Regions from separate parts of the Homo sapiens genome. Here all the other regions are linked to region 3. The links are contacts of gene promoters, found by promoter capture Hi-C in blood cells and fetal thymus (Javierre and others, 2016). All regions are on one chromosome and are shown on one strand. The core of a region is centred on a gene start or on the middle of the fragment in contact, and the rest is flanking DNA. Distances in the headings are between cores, read along the strand shown. Region 1 overlaps LOC124905203 (a long non-coding RNA gene). Region 2 has its middle 190 kb from the start of SH3BGRL. Region 3 holds the start of BRWD3 (bromodomain and WD repeat domain containing 3). Region 4 has its middle 170 kb from the start of SH3BGRL.

Region 1 (2,700 bases), core at 7-2,506, 520 kb before region 3:
CCATTGGATACTTCTAATTAAATACTTATAAAGGCAAGGTTCTGGGTTATCATGCATTTGACAGCTTAGGACATTTTTGTGAAACTAATGCATATAATGATATTGACAGGCTACTGCTAACTACATTGGAGAAAGTAGGACAAGAAAAAAGAAGTTTCATTAAATTTATTTTCCAATTACAGTATGAATGGGGAGATATACATGCTTATGAATATGTATATAGTGACTGATGTAGATAAAGTCTTACATACTTATAGATCTATATTTACTTATTTATTGAGTCATGATTTAAGGTATATTTCTCACTGGAGATCATAACCAAAAAGTTTGAAGGTAATTATTATAATGGGTTGAAAATAAATGACTCAAGTTAAGGCTACTTTACATTATTTCGGACTGTGTGTGTGTGAAGGGTGTAACAAGCTAAAGAACATTTGGGACCTGGAGTTTTCTGACTCCCTCCCTTCTATGTCAAGAATACTGAGCTGAGACTTTATTTCAGGTTAATTTTGAAAAATAATAGCACTGTGTACAACATATCTAACACAGAATAAGTGCTTGTAATGGTAGCAGCCCAAAGGATAAATAGTAAAGTATATTTCAATTATTTTGCCTTATTTATCCATAGATAGTCTCCTGTAGTATCACTTGCCTGATTTAACAATCCAATATAAAATCTGCTTATTAATCAAGTACATTAAAAATGAATCACTAGTTTGTTATATATATGAAGTCCATTGGCATAATTCAGGGAAATATCAGTCTATGACTCTTTGTGTTTGACAAATAGATATGGTATCTGAGTTGAAAAAATATACTTTAAATTATGAATGTATAATATTTACAGTTCCTTTAGGCAGAAACATTTGTTTCTCGAGTGTAATGGCTTTCAAACTGTTCTTTAAAAAGGCTTAGGGGGTCCCAAGAGTTACTTGGTGCTTGAGATGGAGTGGGGGAGAGAACAAATACACACACACACTTATTTCACTCAGAAAAGCTTTACTTAACAAATATTTCATACTGGGCTTATATCATATGTTGTTCAAATAAACAACTCTTTTTGGTGTTTTCTAAGACACTAGTCATAACCAGGGTTGATTAGCACTGAAAACAGAAATGCACGTTTTTCAAGAAAATCTTGAAGTGTGCACTTCATAGTAATTTTCCTGTTACTTCAGAAAATTTCTCTTTCAAGATGACCTTAAAAGACATATAGTAGAAATACCACTGGATTGAGTAAGAAGCACCAGAATTATTCTTCCTTTGCATGTTACAAGTTTTGAGTCCTGGGGTATCATTTGATTTTTCTGTATTTCAGTTTCCTTGTTGGTAAAATGAGATTGTCTAGACTAGATTGAAGTAGCAAATAGGTTTTAACTCCTGTGCCAGATCTAATGATTGGTAGCATCTTCCTAAAGTAATGTGTTCAGAAGAATTCTGAGACTCCATAGGAAAGATCACTATAATCATTTAAACAGTATCTGGCACGGACAAGGGAATAAGTGTGGAAGCTTTTATGTAAGACATTTTGTATCCCTGGGCCAAATGATCTCTTAAATTCCTTTCCAATTCCAAACAATGTAACATAAATATAAAAAAACAAGGAACACATCAAATAAATGTAAAGCACATTAATAAATGACAAAAAACATTCACTACTATAAGAATAGCACCAAGCCTTTCACGAGGAATCCTCCTCCATTTCCCAAACACCTTTCACTAGGCCCCTCCTCCCAACACTGCCACACTGGGGACCAAATTTCAAGGTGTTGTGGTGGGACCAAAGCAATCATCCAAATGCTATCCAAACCAAAGCATTCTTCCCCTCCCCCTCAACTCATATTCTTCTCACATACGTCATTTCATCTCAGTAGTCTCAAAAGTCTTAACTTGTCCCAGCATTAACTCTAAAGTCCAAAATCCAGTCTCATTGAAGACTCAGGCAAGTTCCTTTCAGCTATGAGCCTATAAAATAAAAAGCAAGTTATTTACTTCCAAGATATAATGGTGGGACAGATATTTGGTAGACTTTCCCATTCCAAAAGGGAGAAATAGGCCAAAAAAAAAAAAAAAATAAGCCCCATGTAAATCTGAAACCCAGCAGGGCAGACATGCAGAATTAAATCCTTTTTTTTTTCTTTTTTTGAGACAGAGTCTTGCTCTGTCACCCAGACTGGAGTGCAGTGGCACGATCATGGCTCACTGCAGCCTCAATCTCCTGGACCCTACTGACCCTCCTACCTCAGCATCTTAAGTAGCTAGGATCACAGGTGTGTGCCACCATGCCAGGCTAATTTGTTTTACTTTTCACAGAGACAGGGTCTCCCTATGTTGCCCAGGAAGGTCTTGAACTCCTGGGCGCATGTGACCCTATTGCCTTGGCCTTTCTAACTGCTGGGATTATATTACATCTTAAAGCTCCAGAACAATCTCCTTTGACATCGATGTCCTACATCTTGGGCACACTGGTGTGAGGGGTGGGCTCCCAAGACCCTCGGAAGACCTGCCCACATAGGTTTCCAGGATGTAGCCCACGTGGCTGCTCTCACAAGTTGGAGTTGAATGCCTGTGACTTTTCCTAGCTGGTATTGCACACTGCCTGTGGCTCTACTATTCTGGGGGCCCAGTGGTGGCTCTGCCCCTATGGCTCCACTAGGTAGTGCCCTAGTAGTGATTTCCTGCGGTGGCTCCACCCTGTAG
Region 2 (2,816 bases), core at 292-2,791, 580 kb before region 3:
ATTCCAGGGCCTGGCTCACAGTTTGGTAAGCTCAATACTCAATATGTATTGTAAACCAAAAGTAGCCTGCTACTGCCTCTGCATGACTTACACATGGATGTCTCTAAAGGACAAAAGTAGGGAGGTTGTTTTAACTAGTACACCTGGTTATAAACTTAGTGTATAGTTAATTAATTGCAATAATAACTGAAATGATTTACCCTGTTGTTTCTGACTTTTCAACTCCTCCCATTAAAAGATAGTGTCTATTTCCCCACTCCTTGACAATGGGTGGGCGTGGCGATTTGTTTGATTCATTAAATGCAGCATAAGTACCAATTCTGGGCCTAGTACTCAATAAGCTTCTCTTCTGTCTTTCAGAACCCTGGTATCACCATGTGAAGAAGTCTGAGACAGTCTTCTGGATGATAATTGCCATGTGGCTCCAACTGCCCTAGGCAACAGGCAACAAACTACCAGACACGTAAGTAAGGCCCTCCTATACCAGCCATCTCCCAGCTGTTCCACCAGTTGACTGCAGGTGCCTGAACAAGCTTGGATGAAATAAACCAACGCTGATCCAGGAAAACAGAACTATCTAGCTAACATTTTTTTGGGTTATTAATGAAAATACAAGTTTACTGTTTTAAGCAACTGGGTTTTGAGGTGATTTATTTTGTAGAAACAGCTAACTGATACAGCCTAGAACAAGAAATGGCCAGAAGCGTGGATAGCCATAGATGTCTGGGTGGTGTTAAATGTACTCACTGGATCGTTTGAAATCTAGAAATAGCAAGACTGAAATTGGAGACAAGGGGGTCTAGAGTAGCAGTACAGGGATGACCTATGGAATGGGTGAAGGATGAAGTTTGTGACAAACATTAATGTTAAGGAGCTCCTCAATATCTAAGAGAACAGGATAATTTATCCTACGGATATCAGCCAGCCTCTCACCTAAGCTACCCCAGTGCTTTTTTAATGGTACATTGAATAAAGTGGCTATGGTAGCAGAAATAAAAGCTAGGCATGAGTTTCCCCTCACAAAGGTTGATATAGCTACCTCTATGCTGAATGCCCAATCTGCTAGCAGCAGAGACTGACACTGAGCCCTTGATATGTATAATACCATCCAGCCACTTTGTTGCAGGTGAATTAAATTAGTGCTCTTACACCCAGGGTTACTAGTTCTACCACGTATCATATAATCTGAAATCAGCCCGCTTAGTTGAATGGCCTAGCAGAGACCCAGTGTAGGTTCTATTTGGGAACTCACTCTAAAAGGTTGGACCATGATGCTCCAGTATGTAGTATATTCATTAAAACAATAGTTGATATAATATGATTTTGTGTCCGCAGTAGCTGAAATAAATTGTTCCAGGCAACAATGGGATTGCCACCTCTCTCCAACACTTGTAGACTTTGGTTATTCATCCCTAAACCCTTAGACGCTGCCAGATTTGAGACTTTGCTTTCAATGGAGAATGCTTCTACAAAAGGAGAGTGGAAGGATGCCATTGAACATGAAGTTACAACAATCTGCCACTTAATTCTTTTGGATTTTTTATGAAAGGCACCAGAAAGCAGAAAAAAAAACAGTTAATATTACTGGGGAAAACTGACCCAAATCACCTTGTGGAGCTAGGTTTACTGTCACATGATTGAGGTAGAGAGAAATTTTTAGAACCCAAGGATACTGGGGTATTTCTTTGTGCATTCATGCCTCATGATAATGATAAATGAACAAATACAGATATCACAGCCTGGCAAAAGCAAGTCAACCAAGGGCCCAAAGCCCTTTAGGCTGAAATTTTTGGTCATCCCACCAGACAAGCAACCTGTAATAACTACAGTGATGGCTGAGAGTGAGGGAAAAATAAACTGCAGGTAGAAGAGTGAGACAATGAATATCAATATGGACTTTAGACCAGTTGCAACAGCAGGGACAATAGCATATTCCATTAATTGCCTTCATGTATTGTATTTGGTAGAGAAGGCAGTTAGCTACTTCACTAAAAATGTAGTGGAGGAAATAAGAGATTGTGAGTGGTGCAAAGGGCAGACTCTATAAAAGTCATCTTGAGCACTTCCTCACATTGTCTTGCCCTCATATCTGATTTGAGCCATACAGTGCCTAACAGCACTATGTGAGTTTCAATTTCACTTCATGCTGACAGCACCTCATATCCAGCTGTCCTACATATTGCTCAGTTTCTGTTTCAGGGCTTCTCTGACACCACATCATGGAATGACTATGGAATCTCACTCTGCATTCACACATGCTCAGTAGGAAAATTACTAAGGTTTAACACCCAATAGCCCAATCCTCAACTAAATACACATCAGAGGTCAATGGACAGACAATATCCTTTAGGCAAACCATTCTGAGGTGCATTTTATATGTCTCCTCACAAGAGTCCATCCAGACTGAACATCAGTTATCCATAGCAGCAGCAAACATGATTCTGCATAATGATAATGAATTTTTCTTCTGTCATGTTTCAATCTCCCTGGTTCTTCACTACCAGTATCTGAGATAACTTTGCAAACAAACTATGTGCATGCAAAGCTTTTGAATAAGGCTTAGCTTTCAAGGCAATCCACAATAAAACATATGTGTTTTGTTCTGACTGTATTTTTTCCTTTCCTTGTTCCTTCTTGTATCAGGGGAGGGATGAAATTCAGTACTGAAAAAAGAAGTTGCTTTCAGACAATTAAACCTTCTTAGTTTTTTTTTTTTTCCAGAAACCTGAGGTGATTTGGCTTGGAAACAAATAATAGGATGTATGATTTTGAGGAGAGAGAAGCAAGGGCAGCAAATGAGAGTGGAATTTCCCAAA
Region 3 (2,822 bases), core at 210-2,709:
ATCCAAAACATTTCTGGTCCCAAGCACTTTGGATAAAGAATACTCAACCTGTACATTATACTTCAACTATAAAATTATTCAGTCTGGTATTTTGCTAAACTACTTGCAATGAGTTGTCTAGGTCTCATGTATCTTTTTATATCATTTTGTTGTATCAATTATTCATATTTGTTTTGTCAAGTTCCATGGCAATAACAACCAAAGATAAGCCTATCACTTCACAATTACCTCCTGTGGTTATTGCTTTCTGAGGAAAAAAAAAAATTACAAGTGAGAGCTAATCAACCTAGGCTAAGTTTATGTCAACTTAGAAATTCAAGGCCCACTGTGGTCAGTGGCAGAGCTGAGTGAGGAAACCCAATTCCCAAGAATATAGCCTTAAATTTAGATGAACCTTCAAATTGTAATATTTCAATGTAAATAATACATGCAACTTAAAATGCATTTCTGGTCTCATCAGGTTTAGGTGAGGGAGTGGGGTGGGGACAGGATGTTACGGGAAAGTAGGGAAGAAAAGGACCCGGTTTACTAATCTGTGTCAATTATCATACCAACCCCTTTCATCATTGAAGATTTCAGCAACCAAATACTGAAGGTCAGTGCGGTACCAAGGGTTGGGGTTATATATTAAACAGTGTAGTCCCGAACCTGTAGAAAACTATTGATACCTTGCATAGAGATAGGCAATAATACATAAAGATTATTGAAAACTCTTGGTTAAAGTACTTTAGTAGTATTTGAAAACACAATAGGAAATTACCCTGTAGGAATGGGATGTGTTAGATCCCAGCCGTAGATACGGCACGTGTTAAACTTTCAGAAGGGGAAACATGCTTCACGGCTGATTGCAAATTTCTCATGCAATATTTGTCAGAATCCAGGAGCATTTTAAGTGGTCTTCTAACAATATAAGCCCCGCACTTTGGACTGGTAAGTACAACATTTTCATTTGGTAAATAATAATAATTTTAAACAGAAACAAGTCACGACCAAATAGCGACTCATCCTCCCCCAGGCATAAAACCCTTTAGCCAGCTAGCCGCCTTTCCACGGGGTAGAGTATAAACAGCAAACAAAACCGCTTTGGTACCGGGAGGAAAAAGGGGAAAGGAGTCGAGTCAAAACACCGTCTCTTAAGTTCCTCAAGATCAACCCAGGGGGAAGGGTCCTCCACCGGAAAGGGCCGGATTGCCTTCACAGGAAGGGAAAGTCACTCCGGAGCTCGCAGACGCGAATGCCACCACAGAGTTCCAAGGCGGCTGCCAGAGCGTCGGCCGTCAGTTAGCACCTCCCCCTCCTTCCCAGAGCTGTAGCTAAGCAACCATCGGGCTCCGGGAGAGTCTAGGCTCAGCTGCTGTATTAGTGCCTCTAGCGGGGAACTATGAGCGCTGCAAAACCCTATCACCATTTTTACCCTCCCCTCTCTCCACCCCCTTTGCCCCCGCCCACCTCTTCGCCACTTCGGCTCCTCCCTCTTCTCGCTCCGTCTATCTCTCTCTCTCTCTCTCTCTCCGCCCCCCCACCCCCCGCGTCTCTCTCTCTCTCTCTCTCTCTCTCTCTCTCTCTCTCTCTCTCTTTTTCCTCTCTCTCTCTCTCTCTTCTCTCTCTCTCTCTCACTCACTCACTCTCTCTCTCCCTCTCCCTCTCCTCTCCTTCCTCCTCCGCCTCCTCAGCTCTTGGGCTAGAATATCTATGGGTCGAAACGTGATGCGATGAATTCGAGAGAGAGCGAAACTAGGACGAGGAGTGCGGCGGAAGCGGCGGGACTCCCGGGCATGGGGGCTTCACCACAATAGAGGCAGCGCCCCCACCCGCCCCCGCCAGCCCCTCCGGAGCGAAGCCCCCAAACCCCCTCGGGAAAAGGATGGCGGCAGCACCTACCCAGATCGAAGCCGGTGGGTAGCTGTGTCGGGGGGTGGGGGGGTGCTAAGGGAATGGGGGCTTAGCGCGAAGGCTGTCAGTTTCTTTTGAAAAAGCTTCTATTTCTCTTCTCTACCTCCCTCTGAACCTCTTTTCCCCCCTCTTCCCCAGAGCTGTATTACCTGATCGCTAGGTTCTTGCAGTCTGGACCCTGCAACAAATCCGCTCAGGTAAGGGGAAGAAAGAGATCTGGGAGTCGTGGTGAATGGTCCCAGTGGGGAAATCGAGGCAGCGGGACGAGCAGTTCCGTTGAGGGTGAGGGAAAGGCCGGCCTTGACTAGTCAAACGGTCAGCGGCTGGGCTTTAAGTGTGGAGGGAGGAATGGGTTGATGGCCCGAGCTGCTCCTCATATCTGTGTTTCCCTTTTGCTCAGGTGCTAGTGCAGGAGCTCGAGGAGCATCAGGTACGGAGCCCCTTCGGGAAGGGTGGGGAGGGTTGAGGTGAGACTGGAGGAAGGGGAGGGCAAGTCAGGGGCGGAAGACGGGCTGGGATAGAGGCTTCGATCTGGGTACCCGTAGCTGTTGTCACCGGGGTGAATTGGCTTCTTCCCTCAAAAGGGGCAGACAACGCTGGGGTCTTAACTCGTCCCCGCTTTATGCTTGTGGGAGGCAGTTTTTCAGGATTTCCTTCTCGACCCCCCTTCCCCCCCCCCCCCATATACTTGTCTAGCTCTGAGCCAATAGCTATCAGGCCGAGAGAAATAAAGACGGTAAAGTGTTGAGGACTGGGACACAGGTTGGGTCCAGTTGATGGGGAGCGGAGGCTTTTCCTTCATCATTTGCCTCCGCTTCCCCCTTTCTTTTCGTCCGGCCCCCAGCTGATTCCGCGCCGCTTAGATTGGGAGGGGAAAGAGCACCGAAGAAGCTTCGAGGATCTGGTGAGTAAAGTTTTCATTTCAACTT
Region 4 (2,700 bases), core at 164-2,663, 560 kb before region 3:
CTCCTGAGCTTCAAGTCATAACATGCCTAATGAATGGCACTAACACTGTTACCCCCATAGGGCTGACTTAAGACCTAAAAAGATTCAGGGTTATATAGGTAGTGGACTTTTGAGAAACTAGCATGGGAGACTCAAATTCTCATCCCACACCATTTCTGGCTGAAGCCTGAATGCCCTTTTCGGAGCACAGAACCTGTTGTTACACATGGAGAATTTAGGTTTATAAAGGCAGACCCTTCTGGGAGAAAGAACATTGACATAATCACACTCAATTAGAAATGACTTTTATCTGGGCATGAGCTTTTGATTATGGAAAAACTGAATTATTGAGCACCTCAAGTCACAGGATGGAACACATCTCAATTTCTTCATATATAACATGGGAATAATGATAAATATAATAAAATAACAATGACACTGATAATTTATTGAGTCTTCAAGGGGTTCCAATATCATATGAGACCCTTGACTTACACTACCCATTTTTTCCTCACCTTATAAGGTGAGTGAATTATCCTTACAAGGTAGTGAAGTATCTATTGCAATGGTAAAGTCTCTGTTATTTATAACTTTATTACTATTATTATTATTATTAGGTAAAGGATCTAGGATGGGGAAGCTAGAAGTCAAATTGTACCAATTATACAGTCCTGCTGTCATGCTTCCTTGACAGTATGGAGTCAGCTCTCTCTTTTACGTGATATCCTAATCTTTGCCAATATTACATTCAGTTAGAAAAATAAACTACTATAGCTACAGCATTTGCTGCTGAAACCTACCATAACTCTTCCACAAAGGTTCTCACCAGTCTCTCTACACTTTAGTGTAATAGAAAGTACTGTGAATTAAACTAAGTTTATGTTTCTCTCCTCCAGCATTTACAATATGATTTCTCATTACAAATCATCCAGCTTAAATTTCCTGCTCTATCAGAAATATTTATTTATTTATGTTCAGAAATGTTATTTTAAATCAAAATGCTATAAAGTTTCTCAAACATTTGGAAACAGCCAGAGAAATCTTTCTCTTCATATATCCCTGTAGAACACACAAGTCTGTCACTCCCAGCAGTAAACAGTAGCAGCTTGTGTGGACTCTCATCTCTTATTTTACTTTGAGGTGGTCCTATTAAGTAATCAGAAGGGATTTATTCAAAGTATTTTTTAGGTTGGCAAAAAATAAATGCTTCCCCCATCCCAACCTTGAACATGATGATTAATTAATTTGTTAGAATTGTGCTGATGTTTATCGAAAGGATTTATATTAGTAGAATATTTTACCACTTACCAAGTCTTCTCACCTCCCTTTAATTTTCATAAAATTCCTGTGATATAGTTGGGGCAAGTGTTGCTATCCTCATTTTCCAGATGAGGAGATTGAGACTGGGAGAAACAGTGTGTCTTGTCAGGCAGTTAGTGAGTGGCTGAGTTGCAACATTATTAAAACATAAATATTCTCATTATGCATTCTTTGCTCTTTCCAGCTCTCTTTCCACCTGTTTCATTACATGATTCAGTTGTGTAACAGGATTGAAACAGGGATGTCTCTACACACCTACCACAGGAAAAAAAAAATCTCTGGTAGACTATAGAGTCCCTAGAAGACAAATCTTTCTCCCAAGCTCTCCTTCAAGGTAATGCCTCTATAAATGGTACCTTGTATTTACAGCCTCCAGAATTATTGGTCTTTACCTCCTTCATTGGGTCCCTCAATTCTCCACCAACTGCCTTCAGGTTCTGCTCTACTACTCCCTATATTGCACATTCTCTCTGTTTTTTTAATAACCCTGGGAAAAGTATAGGGTAGTTTTTAAGGTAGGGTTGCCAGGATGCCCAGTTAAATTTGGACTTCAGATTAATAATGAAATAATGTTTTAGTATTAGTGTGTCCCAAATATTGCATGAGGACATACTTTATACTAAAATATAATTTGTCGATTATCTGAAATTCAAATTTAACCAAGTATCCTGTATTTTTATTTGATACATCTGGCAACCCTAGTTAAAAGCAGAGGTTCTGATGTCAAAATAACTTCATTTGAATACTCACCCTGATGAGCTGCATAATCTTGGACAAATTTTTAACTTTTCTCAATTTTAATTTCCTCCTGTCTAAAATAGGGGTAATAATATAATAAGGTTGTTGAAATAATTGAGATAATGTGAATAAAGCTCTTAGCAGAGTGCGTACCACATAATAGATACTCCAAATGGTAACTATTATTATCACTGAATGACAATGAATAATAGCAGCACGCTCCCTGCTAAATAGACAGGCATTTAATAGGTAATAAAATTTTCAGTTCATGGGCAAAGCTCATTCAGAAAACTTCACATAGACAGGTCTTCTGAGGGCATGGACACTTTTTTATAGTTGAGCCTTAAAGTATAAGTCCTCAGTGTTTGAAACAGAAATACCTTTCTTTATGAAGCACAATGCACTATCAGTAGTTTTTAAGTTTTAGTTGACATATAAAGCAGGAATAAATGCTCAGGATAATCAATATCCAGCATCCAAAATGTGGTCCTCTCAGATCACTTAATTTGGTCAACAGGTGTCAGGCAATATATAATTCCAAGTCAACCTGCATTTGTATAGTATATCAAGAAGCAAGTGATCTTAAAGAAGCACACAGCAATAAAGATTGAAAACAAAGCAAAAGAGAATCAAGAAAGGTGAGTAAGAGTGAGGAAGGTCCAG

The links. The method cuts DNA at HindIII sites, captures the fragments that hold promoters and counts their contacts. A CHiCAGO score of 5 or more calls a contact.
Region 1: a contact is called between a fragment that was not itself captured here and the fragment with the promoter of BRWD3 in region 3, in 1 of 17 cell types (total B cells). The highest score is 5.4, in total B cells.
Region 2: a contact is called between a fragment that was not itself captured here and the fragment with the promoter of BRWD3 in region 3, in 1 of 17 cell types (M1 macrophages). The highest score is 5.1, in M1 macrophages.
Region 4: a contact is called between a fragment that was not itself captured here and the fragment with the promoter of BRWD3 in region 3, in 1 of 17 cell types (total CD8 T cells). The highest score is 5.5, in total CD8 T cells.

The regions. Positions count from the first base shown.
Region 1 is chrX:81,327,865-81,330,564 of GRCh38, reverse strand. It overlaps LOC124905203 (a long non-coding RNA gene), which reads right to left. Exons shown (of 3, transcript XR_007068279.1): 3 at 2,289-2,700. Among named protein-coding and RNA genes, the nearest start is that of SH3BGRL, 130 kb to the right of the region's middle. The HindIII fragment of the contact is 514 bases long and covers 1,000-1,513 here.
Region 2 is chrX:81,389,751-81,392,566 of GRCh38, reverse strand. No RefSeq gene overlaps it. Among named protein-coding and RNA genes, the nearest start is that of SH3BGRL, 190 kb to the right of the region's middle. The HindIII fragment of the contact is 2,012 bases long and covers 536-2,547 here.
Region 3 is chrX:80,808,514-80,811,335 of GRCh38, reverse strand. BRWD3 (bromodomain and WD repeat domain containing 3) reads left to right here and starts at 1,459. Exons shown (of 41, transcript NM_153252.5): 1 at 1,459-1,895; 2 at 2,032-2,090; 3 at 2,294-2,323; 4 at 2,738-2,797. The coding sequence starts at 1,865. LOC124905202 (a long non-coding RNA gene) reads right to left here and starts at 2,528. Exons shown (of 2, transcript XR_007068278.1): 1 at 2,043-2,528. RefSeq lists an enhancer at 1,145-1,224. The HindIII fragment of the contact is 3,163 bases long and covers 1-1,978 here.
Region 4 is chrX:81,368,944-81,371,643 of GRCh38, reverse strand. No RefSeq gene overlaps it. Among named protein-coding and RNA genes, the nearest start is that of SH3BGRL, 170 kb to the right of the region's middle. The HindIII fragment of the contact is 4,233 bases long and covers 1-2,700 here.